Regions from separate parts of the Homo sapiens genome. Here regions 1, 3, 4, 5, 6 and 7 are each linked to region 2. The links are contacts of gene promoters, found by promoter capture Hi-C in human tissues and cell types (Jung and others, 2019). All regions are on one chromosome and are shown on one strand. The core of a region is centred on a gene start or on the middle of the fragment in contact, and the rest is flanking DNA. Distances in the headings are between cores, read along the strand shown. Region 1 has its middle 45 kb from the start of UBASH3A. Region 2 holds the start of WDR4 (WDR4 tRNA N7-guanosine methyltransferase non-catalytic subunit). Region 3 overlaps UBASH3A (ubiquitin associated and SH3 domain containing A). Region 4 has its middle 4.3 kb from the start of SLC37A1. Region 5 overlaps RSPH1 (radial spoke head component 1). Region 6 overlaps SLC37A1 (solute carrier family 37 member 1). Region 7 holds the start of UBASH3A (ubiquitin associated and SH3 domain containing A).

The links. Contacts are between HindIII fragments. The study calls those that stand out against the background at their distance.
Region 1: a fragment that was not itself captured here is called in contact with the fragment with the promoter of WDR4 in region 2 in 1 of the 25 tissues and cell types used here (spleen).
Region 3: a contact is called between a fragment that was not itself captured here and the fragment with the promoter of WDR4 in region 2, in 1 of the 25 tissues and cell types used here (spleen).
Region 4: a fragment that was not itself captured here is called in contact with the fragment with the promoter of WDR4 in region 2 in 1 of the 25 tissues and cell types used here (spleen).
Region 5: a contact is called between a fragment that was not itself captured here and the fragment with the promoter of WDR4 in region 2, in 1 of the 25 tissues and cell types used here (spleen).
Region 6: a contact is called between a fragment that was not itself captured here and the fragment with the promoter of WDR4 in region 2, in 1 of the 25 tissues and cell types used here (heart left ventricle).
Region 7: a contact is called between the fragment with the promoter of UBASH3A here and the fragment with the promoter of WDR4 in region 2, in 1 of the 25 tissues and cell types used here (spleen).

Annotation. Positions count from the first base shown.
Region 1 is chr21:42,447,823-42,450,522 of GRCh38, reverse strand. No RefSeq gene overlaps it. Among named protein-coding and RNA genes, the nearest start is that of UBASH3A, 45 kb to the right of the region's middle. The HindIII fragment of the contact is 3,611 bases long and covers 1-2,700 here.
Region 2 is chr21:42,878,106-42,880,805 of GRCh38, reverse strand. It overlaps WDR4 (WDR4 tRNA N7-guanosine methyltransferase non-catalytic subunit), which reads left to right and starts at 1,267. Exons shown (of 11, transcript NM_018669.6): 1 at 1,267-1,399. The coding sequence starts at 1,311. It overlaps LOC105372817 (a long non-coding RNA gene), which reads right to left and starts at 1,094. Exons shown (of 4, transcript XR_937765.3): 1 at 1,051-1,094. RefSeq lists enhancers at 1,015-1,364, 1,435-1,544, 1,575-1,624, 1,277-2,241, 2,242-2,700. The HindIII fragment of the contact is 11,595 bases long and covers 1-2,700 here.
Region 3 is chr21:42,420,931-42,423,630 of GRCh38, reverse strand. All of the region lies in intron 7 of UBASH3A (ubiquitin associated and SH3 domain containing A), which reads right to left. Among named protein-coding and RNA genes, the nearest start is that of UBASH3A, 18 kb to the right of the region's middle. RefSeq lists an enhancer at 185-454. The HindIII fragment of the contact is 5,669 bases long and covers 1-2,700 here.
Region 4 is chr21:42,508,155-42,510,854 of GRCh38, reverse strand. It overlaps a transcript of SLC37A1 not described here. Among named protein-coding and RNA genes, the nearest start is that of SLC37A1, 4.3 kb to the left of the region's middle. The HindIII fragment of the contact is 5,149 bases long and covers 1-2,700 here.
Region 5 is chr21:42,489,800-42,492,499 of GRCh38, reverse strand. All of the region lies in intron 3 of RSPH1 (radial spoke head component 1), which reads left to right. Among named protein-coding and RNA genes, the nearest start is that of RSPH1, 5.1 kb to the left of the region's middle. RefSeq lists an enhancer at 1-140. The HindIII fragment of the contact is 4,264 bases long and covers 1-2,700 here.
Region 6 is chr21:42,527,089-42,529,788 of GRCh38, reverse strand. The region is part of intron 3 of SLC37A1 (solute carrier family 37 member 1); the gene reads right to left. LOC107987299 (a long non-coding RNA gene) reads left to right here. Exons shown (of 2, transcript XR_007067878.1): 2 at 964-2,700. Among named protein-coding and RNA genes, the nearest start is that of SLC37A1, 15 kb to the right of the region's middle. The HindIII fragment of the contact is 7,112 bases long and covers 1-2,700 here.
Region 7 is chr21:42,402,549-42,405,248 of GRCh38, reverse strand. It overlaps UBASH3A (ubiquitin associated and SH3 domain containing A), which reads right to left and starts at 1,347. Exons shown (of 15, transcript NM_018961.4): 1 at 1,191-1,347. The coding sequence starts at 1,303. The HindIII fragment of the contact is 3,374 bases long and covers 574-2,700 here.

The DNA.
Region 1 (2,700 bases), core at 96-2,595, 430 kb after region 2:
TTTTTTTTTTTTGAGACGGAGTCTTGCTCTGTCGCCAGGCTGGAGTGCAGTGGCGCGATCTCGGCTTGCTCCAACCTCCGCCTCCCTGGTTCAAGCGATTCCCCTGCCTCAGCCTCCTGAGTAGCTGGAACTACAGGTATGCGCCACCACGCCTGGCTACGTTTTTGTATTGTAGTAGAGACGGGGTTTCACCATGTTGGCCAGGGTGGTGTCGATCTCCTGGCCTCGTGATCTGCCCGCCTTGGCCTCCCAAAGTGCCAGGATTACAGGCATGAGTCACCATGCCTGGCCCAGGCTTGTTTTTTTTTTCAAGCACACAGTGAGGAAGTCAACAAGAGAATGTGGGTGGGGCATGGGTTGGGATGGCGTTGGTGACAGGACGTCCACTTCCAGACGGTGTCAGCAGGGGTCAGACTTGGCTCACAAACACCAAAGCGACCCACCCAGGGAGAGGAAGGAAAAAAGAGTGTCTTTTGTTTTCTTTTTTTGGGATTTCCTATTGGTTCATAGAGTAGACAGTTTACACCCAATCATGATAATCCCACCAGGCATTTCCGTCTCTGCCCTTTTCCAGCCCAGCTCTGTCCGCAAGGCTCAGTCCATACAGCGAATGGTTCCTTCTGGAGGAACAGAACCACTGAACTGGGGTCCTCTGCCTTGGGGGTGGAATGAGGGTCTGACAGAACCAGAAGCATAGAATATCGAGAAAATGCTATTTCTTGCACACTAGATCTGGAGATCTGGAGATCTGAGTTTCAAACCCATCTCATTCTCCTTGCAAAACCTGTGAGCAGCCCAGCAGGATGAGAGGGGAATTACCTGTGTCTGGCTTTGCCCAGGGTGGAGGACCTGGAAGCTTCACCCCTGAGAAGGTGAATCCAGAGATTCATTACAGACCACCTGAACACGTGACTGTGATTTCAATGCCATACCTTGACTTGCAGCACTTTAATTCATCATCATGATTAGCGAGCGTGGCACTGTGGTATCCAGGAGGGACTTGGACCCAACCACACACTTGCCGAGGAGAAAGAACAACCACCCAGGTGCCCAGCGGTGGGGTGTATTTGTTGCAGGACGTACTGCCCAGCCACCTACATCCCAGTGAATCCATCTCTTCTCTAGTCGGTATCTGCTGGGATGCGTCTAGAACAATCTCCCTGAAGACGTCATTTCGGTATGGCCTGGACTCGAAGCAGGCCTGTGAGTGGGGTGCATGCTCTGCTCTCTGTGGCTGTGTCAACTTCAAACTTCTTTATGTTTGGACACAGAAAAACTACATCATTAGTGAAATAAAACAAGGGACAGACAGATGCGTCTTTTTCTCAGGAGGTCGTGTTTGATTGACTAAAACAGCAAGGAAACTTTTATTGGGTCTGGCCTCCTGTGCATTCTACACAATGTGGGCCGTTTTTGTCACAGCCCGGGGTGTTCACCATCTTTATTTCTACAAGAGCTCCCTTTGTGTTCTGCCCTCCACTTGCCTGGGTGCTCACAGGGGAGGCTGAGGGTGCAGCATGGGTCCTTCCTGCCCTGTCTCTGCATTCACACTATAAAAGGCACTCACAGAGCCACCACCACAGCCCCAAACTGCAATCATGAAATAACACCTGCACTGGATCAGGGGGCTAGAAGAGATGAAAGACCGATGGACTGTCACTACACCGTGCTGGGATCTCTGCCTGCAGCATGAGGCACCACATGTGTGGGCTGTGGGAGCAGGTGTGACCTGTGGGCTGGGGCATGAGACTCCCCACTGGGGAGACCCCATCCCCTGCTGGACCAGCTTCCTCAGCATCACCATCATGGACAGACTCCACTTTGCTCGTGGCCCTTCTTTTGGGGCCCCATTAAATCGGGGGAGCCTACTTCTCCCACTGGCAAAGTCCTCTTCTCTCCTCTACGTGATCAGAAACAAGAATAGGAGAAGCCAAAAAAGGCCTGCAAGGGGAGTGTCTCAAATCCCTATGTCCGAGGCCCTGTACGGGCAGCTCCGCTGTGCTTGGAAGGATTGGGGTATGTTATGGCAGGCTACAGGATAACCCCCAAAGATGTTCATGTCCTAATCCCCGGGACCTGGGAATATGCAACTTTATGTGGCAAAAGGGACTTTGCATGTGTGGTTAAGGCTCTTGAGATGAGAATTGATCCTGGGTTATTGGGTGGGCCCAGTGTCAACACAAGGGCCCTTGTAGGAGGGAGGCAGGAGAGTCAGAAGCAGAAGGCGATGTGGCTGTGAAGGCAGAGACTGAGAGAGCTTGGAGGCTGCTACGCCGCTGTACTTGAGGAGGGAGGATGCAGGTGGCCTCTAAAAGTGAGAAAAGGCAAGGATCCTCCCCTGGAGGCTCCAGAAGAAACATAGCCTGCTGAGAAAATGCCAACCTCCAGAACCGTAGGAGAGTCAGCGTGTGTGTGTGTGCATGTGAGCGTGTGTGTGCCTGTGTGTGCATGTGTGTTTGTGTGTGTGCATTGCATGTGTATGCCTTTGTGTGCATGTGTGCAAGTGTGTGCATGTGTTTGTGTGCTCATGTGTGCATGTATGCATGCACGCGTTTGTATGTGTATGTGTGTTTGCATGCTTGTGTACCTGCGTGTGTGTGCATGTGCGTGTGCATGTGTGTGCGCATGTGTATGTGCACGTGTTTGTGTGTGTGCATGCTCGTGTGTGCCTGTCTTTGTATGCATATGTGCATGTGTGTA
Region 2 (2,700 bases), core at 18-2,517:
GAGTGAAAAAAGGTCTGTGGGCTCACAATTTGCTAATGACAGGAAGGAGGTTGAGAAAGTTTCTCAAAGGGCACATTCTTCAACATGGCCAAGAAGGTGCTGGAAAAGGAGGGACACCCAAGAGGGCAGAGGCAAGAGCTGTGCTGAGATACAGCCTGGGGAGATACTCCCAGGAAGCAGAACTCGGGCCTGGTTAAGACTTCTTATTCTTGTAGGGCCTGAAAACATCTTCCAGTAGGATTTCAGAATTGCTTTGGACCAGTGATTACTGTGTCTCCTCCTCTTCTCATTTTCACATGCAAGTATTTATTGTGGTTATCTGGTCCCGGCTCACCATCATATATTGCGTGCACGGGAGAGAAAATTAATCTTTTTAGTTTGTAAGTCTCTGGATCAAGAGGAGCTGCACCGGACAAGCCAATCTAAAACAGACCGTGAGATCCTAGATTTTGTGCCTGATGCTGGGATTGTAAGAGGCTTTTGGGGATCTTGGGATGAACACTGGAAACTAACCATAGTTTGGGTTGAAAATATCACTACAGTTCGGAGATTTTAAGGCATCTGTGGCTTGTCTAAGTGCAAAGATTCAGTAGGCTTACTTCTAGCGACCTCAGACTTGACGCCACCCGAGACACCCTCACCCATGACCACATCTTGGACATTTTTTTTTTTTTTGAGAGAGAGTCTCGCTCTGTCGCCCTGGCTGGAGTGCAGCGGGGGCGATCTCGACTCACTGCAACCTCCGCCTCCCGGGTTCAGGCAATTCTTCTGTCTCAGCCTCCCAAGTAGTTGGGGCTACAGTCGCACGCCACCACGCCCAACAAATTTTTGTACTTTTAGTAGAAACGGGGTTTCACCATATTGGTCAGGCTGCTCTCGAACTGCTGACTTCATGTGAGCCACGGCCCCCGGTTCATTCACTTCTTGAAGGATCATTTACCAGGCATCTAGTAGCCATCATCAGGTCCTACGTCTCTCCAGCTACCGCGGAAAAAGATCCAGAACCAGCCCTACCCCGTCTAGAGGAAAGGATGAACATTAGGCAAGTACTTGGAATCGTGCGAAGTGCACTCCATCAGATCACCTTGGTGAGTGAACTGCCAAACCCGAAACACCGAAGGCCACCAGCCACAACCCGGAGGGCGGTCACAGCACCTTTCACGCATGCTCAAGGCAGGCTCGTCCTTGAGCATGCGCGGTACGTGGGGTATACGTCATCTCTCGGCGTCTGCGCCTGGCGTCACCGACCGGTGCGGACAGGAAGAGGCTCTGGGCTGGCACATGTGTATGGCGGTGAGGCGGGCGGGTACATGGCGGGCTCTGTGGGACTGGCGTTGTGCGGGCAGACGTTGGTGGTGCGGGGCGGCAGCCGATTCCTGGCCACCTCCATAGCAAGCAGGTGAGGGGGCCTTGGTCTTGGAACAGGGAGACCAGGCTGCGGGCGCGCGTCGGGTCCTGGCGACCCCGCTTCTCCCGCACCGCCTGGTCGCACCCACTCTGGGGTGACCCCGGGGAACTCCGCTCCAGCCCACGAGTCCTCCGCCGCAGTCTCGGCCTGGCCGCGTCTCTGCGCCTGGAGGGTCCGCTTTCGCCGTCCGCTCTCGGCGTCCGCTCCCCGGCTCCGGCGCGCTCCTTGCACTAGATGGCTGGTCTGCGGTGTTCTTGCCCGGTTAGCGCCGCCGGGTCGCTTCCGGTCTCCGCGGCGCCGGCGGGGACCGGGTAGGTAGAGCACGTGGGGCGACGCTGACCAGTCAGCAAGGCCCGGCCGAACACGCTCTGCAGAACTGGGAAGAAGCGGGTCTCGGGTCTCCCTGGTGAGAAGGGAGGGGCTTACTCACTGCGAGCTCACTGACCTCCAAGCGCGCTCCCTCTTTTTGCAGGGTTGTCTGTTCCCTCTTCCCGGCCTGCATCCACTCACCTGGCCTTAATTGCTCCTTAGGGCTCCAAGTCATCTCCGACACTTACCCAACCCAAGGGTGCACGTGGAGCTCGCAGTGCGCACCTCCCTAGTGGCCCTTCGCACGGCTCGGGTTTTGCTTTCCGTAATTTTATTCTCCTTCCTTAGTGTATCGCCAGTGCTAGGACGACGCAGGGGATTTTTAACTTAGTAAATGTTTGTTGATGGAACAGTCCTAACTCAGGACTCTCGGAGCAATTAGTAGTGCTGTCAGTTTCAGCCCCTCGTTTCCTTTCCCAGGTTATTTGTGATTTCATATTTGAAACGGACGACGTGTCTGTCAGATATACTGTATATTTTTTGTTCGTTTGGTTTTAGAAAGCCAATTCGATGTTAAGTTAGGTCTCACAAAAATTGTACTCAGAAACCCGTCACATATCCCAGATGATTTTGTTTTAGAGACTCACGGTCTAATATCTGCCAGAGTGAGCTGTGGATATATTAGACATGATTTGCTTACCTTCAGTCTTTGCATTTTGAGGAAATTCTAGTGGCTGGTGGAGTTTCTGACTTGGAAGACAAGTCCACGGTTCCATATGGAAAGTTTTTTGGTGCACTCGCTTTAAAGGCTATAAATATGTACAAGATACGTGCCAGGGGGTGAGGATGGGATAAACCGAAGTTTAGGTTCAGTATGGAAAATGGGTGATTCTTATGTTGGTAAGTGCCTGGGGTCATGGGAACACTTTCAGGTAGGTGAGATATGTTTCTAAATAGTAATGGCTCTTTGAAATTTGTATACA
Region 3 (2,700 bases), core at 84-2,583, 460 kb after region 2:
TCTGCAGAGTCTTTGTGGTTCCTCTGTGACTGTGAAACTCTCCCATCCCGGGCAGAGAGCGAAGGACATGCTAAATGATGCGGGGCCACAGGGGAGCCCCAACCCTCCTGAAATTGAGATGGTTAGTTAGGGCATAGCCAGCATCTCCTCTCTATTCCTTAAACTGTTGATTGGATCAGGTGGTGAACTGAGCTTGCAAGAAAGCAAGAGCTTCCTTGATTGTACAACGTCACCTGGCCTCCTGGGCCCGAGTCTTCTCACCTCTCAAGCAGGGGAGCTGCCTTCGGTTATCTCTACAATCCCTTGTGGCACCCACATCCTGTGATTTTGATGTGGCCCCTGGACCCACGGACATGTCTATGTCAGCAAATTGTGTTTCTCCTGAACCGCTGGTCTGCACGCATCTGGGATGGCCATGACTGTTGGTTGAATGTGTGTCTGTTTTCTCACTGGATGTGGGAAAGCTCGGAGCTGGGAGCTCACAGCGCACGCCATGGTATGGACAAACCTCAGCCCTGGCTTTGTCTAGCTTTTCCACCTTTACTCTCCCTTTGACCCAGCTTTCTTACATTCTCTTCTTGAAATTTAAAATGGATTAATTTATGTTTTGAGTAAGTAATGCATTTATATGCTTCATACATTTAAACATTATGAAATGGTCGTGTTTGAAAAGACTCCCTCCCATTTCTGTTCCATTCTCCTGGCTCCCACTCCCAACACCCACCGGTAACCATGGTTAGAAGTTTCTAGACACTCTCCCTTCCAGGGAACCTTTAGGCATACACATGTATAGAAATACATATTGTGCACATGTATTTACAGACAGTTATGTGTTTCTCTCCCCTTCCCCCACAAGTATATCATGCCATACACATCGTTCTGCAACTTATTTTTTTCATTTATCAATAAATCTTGCATATTTTTTCAAATCAATATATAAAATTCTCCCTTTTAATTATTTTAAAGCTGCAAATATTTTATTGTATGGATGTGTCATAATTTAATTTATGGACTTATTTTTAAATTTTAATGATCTCTTCTATAGGCAGTTGAGGTCATAGTTGAAAGCCCAAGCGTGGGATTAGGTATAAGACTGGAATCCGGCTTCCTCTGCTCACTTGCTGTGTGAACACAGGCAAGTGAGTTGATCTCTTTGTGTCTCAGTTTCATCAACTATAAAATGGATCAATAAAAGTGCCTATCCAGGGGGTATTGGAGAAGTAAATCAGTTAGTAAGGGAAATGCATGGCACAGAGCCAGGCACAGGGGGTGATGTTAGTGTGCAAAGCTATTGGACATCTCTTAAGCTGCCTTAAAATAGATTTAAGTGGATTAGGAGTCAACACATCAATAAATAAAGACGTGTGACTACGGCTGCATTTTTCATCCCACATTTGCATTTTGTGGTCCTAAGTTCTTATTCATTAGGGTAAGAAGTTAAATGGCCTCAAGAGAAGATGATATGGAATGTCATGTATGCACAGCTGTGGGGCTTTGGCTGGAATCTGCTCTCCTTGAATGTCAAGTGGCTATTATGTTTAGTGGGGGAGCCCAGGGACATAGGTACTGTCCCTGGCTTGTTATACAAATCTCAGTGTATGAATAATTAGCAAAAAGAAATATAATACTTAAAGAAATCAGCCATAGTCACCAAATCTCCTTTTATAAATATTTCAGACAATACTTCCATTATTTTTACTACTATTTCTTGCAAATTCTAATCATTTCACCAAGAGCTTCTATCAGGTACTATTAAACCATCTTTTCTTTTCTTTTTTGGGGGTTTGGATAAAAATGACCAATATGCAATCATTTATTTCAGCTCTTCAAAATACGTTCTTTCTTAATTTACTTAAAATGCTAGTCTTATCCACACAGAGGCTTATCCATATAGCCTCTGACAATTTTTAAGCAGCTTTTAATGACTACTCAAATAAAACGTCACAATTTTCATAGTTTTGCCATGTGCATGAATCTCATTAGGAAGGGTACAGAAAATAATTCCCTGGATGTATAGATGCTGGAAATAGAAGTCCACAGCAAATGTCCAGCACAGATCTGAAAATCTATAGATTGAGTAGATGCTGATACATCTGTGTTCAACTTAATGATTTATTTATTTGTCAGGGTGGTGAGGGGAACCCTAGAGAAGCTGTGGAGCATTTTAGGAGAGAATTAAACAAATGAGTGAAATATAAAATGGTTTTAAGACCTCCTGCCTGGAGACAGAGGGATGGCCACGATGGTGTTTTTCCAGGCTCTCTTCCCCAGCCACACAGCTCTGAAGGTGCCAGGAAGCCCAGAACCACAACATAGGGTTTTTCTGTGTATTTCTGCCCTTCTCCTCCCACTCTCATCATTCAGTTGTTCCAACCATCAGTCTTGACACCTGCAAGAGCTCCACCCCAACAGGCACACCCATGAGGCTGAGCAGCTTTTCTCTTTTTTCACCATGTGTACTCTGACCTCTGCCTGCTCTCTCCACTCTCCTAACTGGAACCTGGGAGAAGAGAGTGAAAAAGCTCACAAGAGCCACCTTAACACTTTGCAATGGCTTTATGGTGTGGCAACTTGGCCAGACTGAACGACAGTTCCTAGACTTCCTTTTTAGCACATGTCTGATCAGGGTGGGCTACAAGAGGCATTCTCATGAGAGCTGGAGGATGGAAGGGAGGCAGTAGCCATCCTAAGCATCACACA
Region 4 (2,700 bases), core at 59-2,558, 370 kb after region 2:
ATATTTAGGTACTCTGATGTTGGGTGCATATACATTTATAATTGTTATATCCTCTTGATGAATTTATCTCTTTATCATGATATAGTGACTTTGTCTCTTATGAAGTTTTTGACTTAAAGTCTGTTTTGTCTGATATAAGTATCTTTTTTGCTCTCTATTTGGTAACCATTTGCATGGAATATCTTTTCCCATGCCTTTACTTTCAGCCTATGTGTATCCTTAAAGCTGAGTCTCCTGCAGGCAGCACCTAGATTTTTTTTTTTTAATATCCATTCAGCCACTTCTATCTTTTGATTGCAGAATTTAATCCATTTACATTAATTATTGATAAGGACTTACTACTGCCATTTAAAAAATTGCTTTCTGGCGGTTTGTAGTTCCTTTGTTGCTTTGTTACTCCCTTACTATCTTCCTTTCTAATGTGATGATTTTTGTAATGGTATGCTTTGATTCCTTTCTCTTTACATTTTGTATATCTGCTGCAGGTTTTTGTTTTGTGGTCACTATGATGCTTATATAATACATTTTAGGCCAGGCGCTATGGCTCTCGCCTGTAATCCCAGCACTTTGGGAGGCTGAGACGGGCAGATCATGCAGTCAGGAGATCGAGACTATCCTGGCCAACATGGTGAAACCCCATCTCTACTAAAATACAAAAAATTAGCTGGGCGTGGTAGTGTGTGCCTGTAGTCCCAGCTACTCAGGAGGCTGAGGCAGGGGAATTGCTTGAACCCAGGAGGCAGAGGTTGCAGTGAGCTGAGATCGCATCACTGCACTCCAGTAATAAAACATTAGCTGCCTACAGAAATCCTACACTTTAATTTTTCCCCACCTCAACTTGTATGCCATCAACTTAAGGAGCAGACATTCTCCCAGAGAAGGCCAAGGCAAAGCCAGTGACAGGCCTTGACTGACAGGGAACTGAGGTTTCCCTGAAGGGGGCTTTGAAGATACTGGGCTTCAGAGCTCAAGAAAATACCTCATGCTTAGAAAGCATTAGAGCATTAAACACTATTAGAGAGAAAGAAAAGGGAAAATCAGAACCTGATTACTTAACATGGAGAAAAGAAACTCATTTTATCTCCACTGATCAAAAAGCAAGAATTCTAATGGTATGGTGCACTGACTGGCGAGGAAGGGTGATTTATATTCAGTTACTAGTGTTGTTGATAAGAAATACAATGAAAAGCCTCTGATTATTAAGCATGCTCTGTATTCCAGGCATTGTGCTCGGCCTACGGATATAAAACTGACAAGAGTCCACACACTGAAGAACTATAACCCAATCCAGCAAACATAATTAGGTGTGAAGGAGTAGGCGTTCCCAGTCCTACAGGAGCCCAGTGAGGAGACTGGCCACGGCCCCCTCCCCATGCCACACTTCCAGTTGCAGTACTTTTGACTCGCTTCCCAGTCGATTCACGTATGAAAGCTCTGTTTCCTCCAAAGAATTCTCCTCCTTGATCGTGAAGAACGGGCAGCGGCCATGAACAACAATGACTGAGTCACCGTGGGTGGGACAGACCTGTCTGTCCTACAGCATCAGGGGAAGTGGCAAGGGATGTAAGAGAACTAGATGTTGTCTCTAAAACCAGAGGTCCATAGAAAAGCTTTAAAATTGGACATAAAAATCATAGTTTACTCATATTATTTAGAAATATAGGGAACTACCAGAAGAAATGGGTAAAAGAGTAGAAAATGGTAGGGGAATGAGACAGAGGAGTTGAAGGGATAAAGCCAGGCCCGACTGTTTGTTGTTATATACCTTTAGTATCATTTGATTTTAAAACTATTGGCATGATATTTAAAGAAATATCAACATAAAGACAGAAGGCTGTGCTTAATTTAGGTAATGGCATTTTAGTGGTAGAATTTTAGACACTGTGATACTTGAATTAGAGACATATTGGAGGAGAGGAGCTTTCAAGTGTCCTGAAATAATAAGGGGACAAACACCCATTTATAAGGGTGGTTCTCTTTAAACTACCTGTATAAAATAGGCAAATTTTCTTGCTTCTAAGACCCCTTGGCAGTGTTTCCCAGCAGAGTAACTTTCTTGCTTTTCTTCTATATGTGTAGCAAGGGAAATAGTAACTGAGAGAGTGCTCACGGGTATTTGGGGAGTAAACTGGATTCTAACTGAAGTAGGACTTGATAAAGGCTTGAATCAGATTCAGGGACTCACATTTCTTTCAGTGAAGCATTCCTCTGTAGCTGAGCTCCACTCTGGGGCTAACTTGTTGCCTGAGCCCATCTGTTGTAAATTCCTCTTGAGTTTATGCCTATAGGTAGAATGAGGTCAGGTATGTGGAAATAGGAAACTGACCCATCAACTAAGGAGTCATTCTTGCAGTTGAGCTAGTGCAAATACATGAGATAAGCAAGTTGGAAAATTTTTATGGGGTCTGCAAAAAGACATACTCTTAGGCCAGGCACGGTGGCTCATGCCTGTAATCCCAGCACTCTGGGAGGCTGAGGCAGGTGGATCACCTGAGGTCAGGAATTCGAGACCAGCTTGGCCAACATGGTGAAACCCTGTCTCTACTAAAAATACAAAAATTAGCCAGGCATGGTGGCGGGCACCTGTAATCATAGCTACGGGGGAGGCTGCGGCAGAAGAATTGCTTGAACCCGGGAGGCAGAGTTTGCAGTGAGCTGAGATTGCGCCATTGCACTCCAGCCTGGGCAACAGAGCGAGAC
Region 5 (2,700 bases), core at 5-2,504, 390 kb after region 2:
AAGGGAGGCTCCTGAGTGGACGCAGGCCTCGCAGCTGGTGGACCCACGGCTTCAGCTGCTCTGCGGCATTCATCTTCCTGAACCTGTCTTTGCATTTTCCATTTCTGACCAACCCCGCCATCTGACGGATGTGTTATTTCTTCAGATCGAGTGTTTCCTTACATCAGGGCTTCCTGTCTGGGAGTCTTCCTGCCTTGTTAAACTGACTTTTCCTACCTGTGCCATAAGTCCTTACAGGCCAATGTTATGTTTGAGGAGGATTCTTTTTCCTTTATTTCCAAGAACCTCCCTGCCGCCCCTTGTGCCGTTGTCACCTGGTGTGACCACATTAGTGATATCCCAAACCTGGGCAGGGGGACCGGCAGGGAGCGTGTTGTGAGTCTTCAGAAAGTGTATATAAAATTCTGTGTTCTGGGCTTTTTGTTTTTTCCCTAGGAAGAAAGAAATTGTCTAGTTTTCTTCAGATTTCCAAAAAGATCTGTGACCCTAACCTTGGACTCTGGTGACAATAGGTGTGAGCTTGCATAGGTGACTTCACATCTCCTTGCCTCAGTTTCTCATCTGTAGCATGAAGATTCAATGGATAAACACAGGGAGACACCTGCAACCTTGCCTGATCCATAGTGAGCACTCAGTAACTGGGGCTAGGACTGTGATGTACCACTTGTGACAGCATCACTTCTTAGTGAGGAGGACATATTCTTACAAAGTGCGAGCTATAGTTGCTTGCTTTGCTCCTAGATAAAATAAGAACCAGTAGGTGGTTCTTATTTTAATAGATGTCAGTGATGATTCTGTCCAATTCTGAGACCAAGATGGAGGGTTTTAATACCATCCCTGTTAGATAGAAATTGTTTTGTTTTGTTTCATAAATCCCAGAAGGCTTGCTCTATAAGAAGCACCATCTGCTTTTTAAATCAACTTTAAACAATTTAATTTGGGGCTTAATTTAATTCTTTCCAAATCCTTATGCACCTAATCTCATTCTTGTCACTTTTGATTTTAGTGTAGATGTTGATACAATTTGAACAACACACACACACACGAAGATATTTAGGATAAGGGATTTAAGGAATTTTGAATATGAAGGTTAAAAATGGGTAACTGTTTCTCTGACACCAAATGCATGGATTTTCCATGCTATGTACTTCTCCAGTCTTCTGTGAACACCAACTGAGTTTCCAATGATGCAACTCCATTCTGACACCACCCAGAGTTAGCACAGACCCCACAGGTTAAGGGCTCAGTTTCCAAGACTGCCCCACTTCAGATGTCAACCTCAAGTTGTGGATCCGGAGGGTACCCACAGTTCTACCTGACTCGGCTACAAATTGGGGGTTCCTACAACACCCTACTCAGGTTTGATAATGTGCCATAGCGGCTCATAGGACTCAGGAAAGCACTTTACTCATGTTTACTGTAAAGGATATTATAAAGAATATGGATGAACAGCCAGATTCAGAGGTACAGAGGGCAAGGCCTGGAAGGTTCCCAAGCACAGGAGCTTCTGTCCTTGTGGAGGTGGAGTGCACCACCCTCCTGGCACATGATATGTTTATCACCCCAGAAGCTCAACAAATCTTGCTCAAGAGTTTTTACAGAGCTTAATCTCTGGCCCCTTCCTTCTTCTTTACCAAAAGTTGGTGGGTGGGGCTGGAGGTTCTATCCTTCTTATCACTTGGTCTTTCTGGTGTTCAGTCCCATCTTGAGGCCATCCTGGGCCTCATTTGCATAAGTTCAGGTGTGGTCAAAAGAGTCTCATTTTGAATAACAAAAACATTTCTATCAGTCAGGAAATGTCAAGGGTTTTAGGAGCTCTGTGCTGGGAACCATGAATAAAGACCAATATTTCTTATTATGCCACACTAACATATAAAGCTCTTCTGGTAACAGTTGGGATTTTTGATTCTCCAGATGGCTTTGTATCTTAAAGGGTGCAAGATTTAGCCACTACCCAGAGATTTCTTCTCTGACAAAAGCTTAAATAAGTGTCTTACTTCATGAAGGCAGCAATGGAAACTGAGGTCAGAAGTTATAATATTAATTATAACATAGTAAGCCAATACTCTTCCAATCACAAAATCTCAGTTAATGTATGGCTGAGTTATTCATAACAGTGTATCTTGGCTGGCTGCCATCACAATGGGCCAGAATGGTTTTGTGCAGGGCAGTGTGTTCAACGTCAGGACCCTGTGGCATAAAGTCCAGTACCCTACCTGTCTCCCAGATGGTCACACAAGTCCAATTAGGGAGTCCAGGAGCCAGCAGAGGCTATAGTGCTGCAGGAGAGGAGTGGGGAGACGGTCCTGGGTGGCGGGTGACTTGGATACAGGCAGGAAGGCCGAGGTTTTTAGGGGTAGTGGGGGATGAGATGGAGGGGAGGGTGGGTGCCAGATGTGGGGGAGGCCTAGACCCCATGTACTGATGCTGAGGGTTGGGGGTGTAGGGCCAACTGAGGACTCTGAGGTTAAGGGGGAGAAAGAGCATCCCTATTCCCTGCTGGCCTTGTTGCCTGTCAAACAGAACTCATCAAAACAAAGAAGTTTAAGAATGACATTGTGGAGAAAGAAGAATGACATGATAACTTGAACCTGGGTTTTTTGGAAGCCCCCGAATGGCAGGAGCTGGAAAAAATGAGCACTTGACTGTTGGGATGCTTGTGGAGAAGAGAGCATGGTGTTAGACAGACTCCAATTTTCA
Region 6 (2,700 bases), core at 23-2,522, 350 kb after region 2:
AGTGTTGCCTTAATTTGCATATGGAATACCGGCAGACTCGAACACCATTCACATATTTCCTGGCGATCTGAATTCCGTGTCTGTAAACTGCTTGTTCATCCCCCTTGCCCGTTGTTTCTTTGGGTTTCCTAACTTCACACTCACTCCTACGATAAACATAATTTTCTTCTTGGATTTGTACTTTTTGTATTTTACATTCATGTCTTTAATCCATTTATTTTATTTTACTTTTTTGAGATGGAGTCTCACTCATGTCACCCAGGCTGGAGTGCGGTGGTGTGGTCTCGGCTCACTGCAACATTCGCCTCCCAGGTTCAAGCGATTCTCATGCGTCAGTCTCCCAAGTAGCTGGGATTACAGGTGCCCGCCACCATGCCCAGCTCACTTTTGTACATTTAGTAGAGATGGTCAGGCTGGTCTCGAACTGCTGACCTCAGGTAATCCACCTGCCTCGGCCTCCCAAAGTGCTGGGATTACAGGTGTGAGCCACAGTGCCCGGGCCATTTGTTTTTATAAAATAGGGATTCAACATTTATTTCTTCCTGACGAATAACCAGTTGTGCCGACACCATTTATTAAATTTATTAAATAAGCTCTGTCAAATATTCCATATTTTCTAATCTATTCTACTGACTTTTTTGTCTATTCTCATGTAATATCATAATTTGATTATGGTATTAAAATATGTTAATCTTTTGCATATTTTCATATCATAAAATGTTATCTTTACACTTTTCTTGATAATTCCTGGACATTCTTTCATACAAACTTTAAGATTATTTTATTCAATTAAAAAAAACCCTGCTAAGATTTTCACTGGAGTTGCATTTTATTTAAATATTAACACTGGGAGAATTGGAACTTTCCAAATAACAAGTTTCCCACCCATAGTACATACTTCCAGCTTTTCAGACTTTGTTTTCTGTCTGCCACTGAGGATTATTTTATTTCATTTTTTTTTAGATGGAGTTTCACTTTGTCGCCCAGGCTGGAGGGCAATGGTGCGCTCTCGGCTCACTGCAAACTTCGCCTCCCGGATTCAAGCTATTCTCCTGCCTCAGCCTCCCCAGTAGCTGGGATTACAGGCGCCTGTCACCATGCCTGGTTAATTTTTTTTGTATTTTTAGTATAGATAGGGTTTCACTATGTTGGCCAGTTTGGTCTTGAACTCCTGACCTCAGGTGATCCGCCCACCTCGGCCTCCCAAAGTGCTGGGATTACAGGCGTGAGCCACTGCGCCTAGCCAGTTTTCTCCTTTTAAGTCCTGTGTGTCCAGAGAGGGGTGGGCACACTCACATTCAAATCAATGCTGCCATCCCCCTGGCTCCAGGGACCCCTGCAGTTTAAGCTTCTCCGGGAAGCCTCTGCTTTCAGGTTTCTTTTCTGGCCCAGTCCAGGTGAAAAGAGCTCGCACTAAGATCTCTGCTGGGAGTCAGACTCACCTGTCTACCAGCTTGGGCAGACGCTTGCCTTGAGTCCTGAGGCTAGGCCACAGCTGGAGCAGCAGATAGAAGGGACAGGGTTGCACTTATAACACCACTATCCTCCCAGCCCTGGTTTTATCATCATCATCGAGAAAAATACAATTAATCAGCAGTGATCAAAGGTAAGTCTAAACATTCCATTTAACTAACTTAAATGTGACCTGGTGTGCCGTGTCATTCTATAAATGACATAACAGAATAAGACTCACTTTCTAATTCACAGCCTCTGGTTCAATTTCAAGTAAGCAAATACATTTTGCTTTGGTTTTGCTTACAATATTCTGGGAAATGCAGGCTATAAATAATCACTCAACTGTTTTGTGGGTCAACAGAATCACTACTACTTTCAGTTTCGTTGATGCCATTTATATCATGAGCTCAAGCACACGGGCGCTTCAGAAGGCACTATAAAGTTTAGTTTTGATGTGGTGTGATGTTCTGATCTATCTTGAAAGGTAAAGAAACCCACAGGATTCAGCGTCAAGCCAATCCATGCCCAGGCACATCGCAGCTGCTAGGTCAGGAAATCTGTGCGTTTAGGAGGCTCTGAGGGTGATGCTGGGACTGTACTCAGGTAATTAAACCCGGACAAACCCTGAGGCACAGAGAGGATGAGTAGGGGCCCTGGAGGCAGCCTGACCCACAGGGAATTCTCGAGTGTGTGGCAGCCCTGCCTGGGGAACGAAGACCCGAGCCTCAATTTCCTCACAGGGGCACTCGCAGGGTTGCTGTGAGGATCACAGGGGTAATGTATGTGGCAGTTTGTCATACCCCAGGGCTCTGTAAGCGGCAGTTATTTATATTGTTACTTATGACACTGAACTAAGAGCTGACCCTGACGCCGCCTCCTCAGAAGCCCTAAGTCTTGAGTGGCCTGGACACCACTACACACGAGAGTCAGGGGCGGGGGCTTTGAGATGGACCACCAGGAAAGCCGGGAGAGGGACCGGGACAGGGCTCCCACTTGCTCCTGGCTCACAGGGGCCCTCATAGTCATCAGGTGGACCCCAACAGCTGTGGCCTGACAAAGATTCCCCCAAAGGCCAGCCCACCTTACACGCTACATCTGCCCCAACAGCCCCCCAGCCCAACAGGTGGTGCCTTCATGGAGATGCCCATCCCTGCACGTAGCACTCAAGGCAGTTCTCCCACCTGTAAAGCTGTTTTTCTTCCCCTACAATCCACACCCAACCTTTCTAGGTCAATCCTGAAACCC
Region 7 (2,700 bases), core at 98-2,597, 480 kb after region 2:
GGTGGCCGCCCTGCACATGCCTGACCCCACTCCCCATTCAAAGGCCCCTGGCTTAGCTTGAACATAACAGTGACGACAAAGCCCTGATTTGGGGAGAAGAAATGGGTTTGTCTAGCTTCAGAGTTACTTCACCCAATTTGGCCAAGCTTTTGTTATAGTGTGGAAGGAAAGTTTAGCTCCTTCCCCAACCCAAAGTTACCTAAAGTGTGTTTCTGATACATTTTTCCATGTGAAAAAATGAATGGGTCAGATTTAAAGTGTGTTTCTGATACATTTTTCCATGTGAAAAAATGAATGGGTCAGATTTAAGGCACTGGTTTGCCATGAAAGCTGTAACCCAATGTTGGTGTCGTGGCCTCCCTCTCCGAGAGTGGTAACTCTGAAGGCTAAGCTCTTCCACATGCAGGCCTTTCCCTTGGGTAAGCAGGGTCGCGCTCACACTGTGTCTGAAGTTTCCTACCCATTTGTTTCGTTATCAGACACTCAAGGGATTGTCTCTGAGGACAAGTGACTTTCCCCGGGCAGCGTGGAAGCACAGCCCTGCTGACAGTTGGTCCCAGTGTTAGAGACTCAGCGGGCTTTGGGGCCTTTCACGTTAGAGTTTGAATATCTTGAAACGCCACTTTCAGAGTCACTGAGCTGCACACAAAGAGATTACAACCAGGCCCCAATCTCCTCCAAACCCCCAAAATGGGGCACCCAGAGTAATACATGGCTTCTGATTTTCACAAATTTCAGGGTCCCCCAGTCAGCCAGCCGAGCTGGTCTTTAAAAGGTCAAGAATATCAGGGGTATTCTTGTGCCTCCCTGGGCCACACATAAAATACGCTAACACTAATAATAGCTAATGAGCTAAAAAAAAAATCTCATAATATTTTAAGAAAGTTTACCAATTTGTGTTGGGCAGCCAACACAAATTGAACAGGGCAGCCTTAGGAGGCTGAGGTGGGATGATGGCTTAAGCCCAAAGCTGTCCTGGGCCTCATGTGGGTTGGACAAGCTTGGTCAAGATCACCTCATTTACGAGAAGCAGAAGAGGGCCCTGTGAAGAGGCAGTGTCTTACCCTGCAAGGTGCACTGCTTTGGCAGGAAGCCGTACCCTACACCCCTGCAGCTCCATGCCGGGGGCCGCAGCAGGGTCTGGCACCAGCCTTACTGGCTGGGCCCCGGGGTCTCTGGGCAGTACTCACGCGGTGTGCACCGGGAAGCCCATGGCCAGGAGGGGCTCCAGGAGCGAGGGGCTGCTGCGGCTCTTGAGCTTGTTGGAGACCTTGGCGTAGAGCTGCGTCTCCCCCGCTGCCATCTCTTCCTGCCCTTAGGCCAAGAAGCTCGCCTGCACACAGAAATGAGGAGATAAAGCAAGAGGGGGAGAGGCAAGGCTGAGGCTGTGAAGAAAAACCTCAAGCTCTTTTTGATCTTTCTGACAAAAGTTGATATCCTGTTTGCATGAGATATCAGTTTTCAGAATTCTGTTTGCAGGATGCTGGGTGCAGCGTCCACCAATCCTAACTGTTTCCACCACGGGAGTTTGAGGCTAAAGGTCCAACCGAGCCCCTGCACGGGATCAGCCTCTGTAGGGACTTGGCTAGTATTCGGGAGCAAGAATGCGTGAGAGCATGGGGGAAGGAAGCGGAGGAGAAGTCAGGGAATGAGTTCCCTCCTGGATCCTGCTGGCCCCCTGCCCTGACCCACCCTGGATCCCAGTCTCCTTGTCTGTGAACAAGACATTAAACCCCACTCTATCTATTGTCTCGGATTGCTGGAAAACTTACTGGTTCTTTCAGTCATTCATTGACTTGTTTTTTTATTTTAAAAACTTTAAAAGCTTTATATGTGTACAGAAAAGTTGATGAATCATATGTGTATAGCTCAAGGAATTTCCATAAATGAGCCCACACCCCTAATTCCCCCACGACCCAAAATCAAACAGGGCAACCAGGGGAATTTTGTACCTCCTCCACCCAAGGGGACATTTGGAAATGTCTGGAGACATTTTTGTTTCCAAAATGAGGCGGGGGTGGTGGTGGGTGGGGTGGACATCGTGGTACCGGCACTAGTGGGTAGAGGCCGGGAATGTCACAGTGCCCAGGACAGTCTCCCCAACAAAATTTCACTAGTGCCAAGGTGGAGATAGCCTGCTCTGGAACATTCTCAGAACCTCAGATGCACCTCTGCCCCCAGCTCAGCCTCCTCCAGTTATCTCCTCCCTCCCCCAGAAAGTAAACTGCTGTATCACTTGTATATGAATTGTGCCTGTGGTTGAGCCTTATGTAAATAGAACCATATAGCATATTCTCTATCATATCTCATTTCTTTTTCCTCAAATTATGCCTGTAAAATTTATCCACATTATTGCTTGTAGCCACAGTTAGTTCACTGTTATTGCTGTGTAGTATTTGATTAATAAATATACCAGCCAGGCGTGGTGGCTCACGCCTGTAATCCCAGCACTTTGGGACTTTGGGAGGCCAAGGGGGGGGTGGATCACCTGAGGTCAGGAGTTCGAGACCAGCCTGGCCAACATGTTGAAACCCTGTCTCTACTAAAAAATACAAAAATTAGTTGGGCATGGTGGTGCATGCCTGTAATCCCAGCTACTCAGGAGGGTGAAGCAGGAGAATCATTTGAACCCAGGAGGTGGAGGTTACAGTGAGCAAAGATTGCATCACTGCACTCCAGCCTGGGACAGAGTGAGACTCC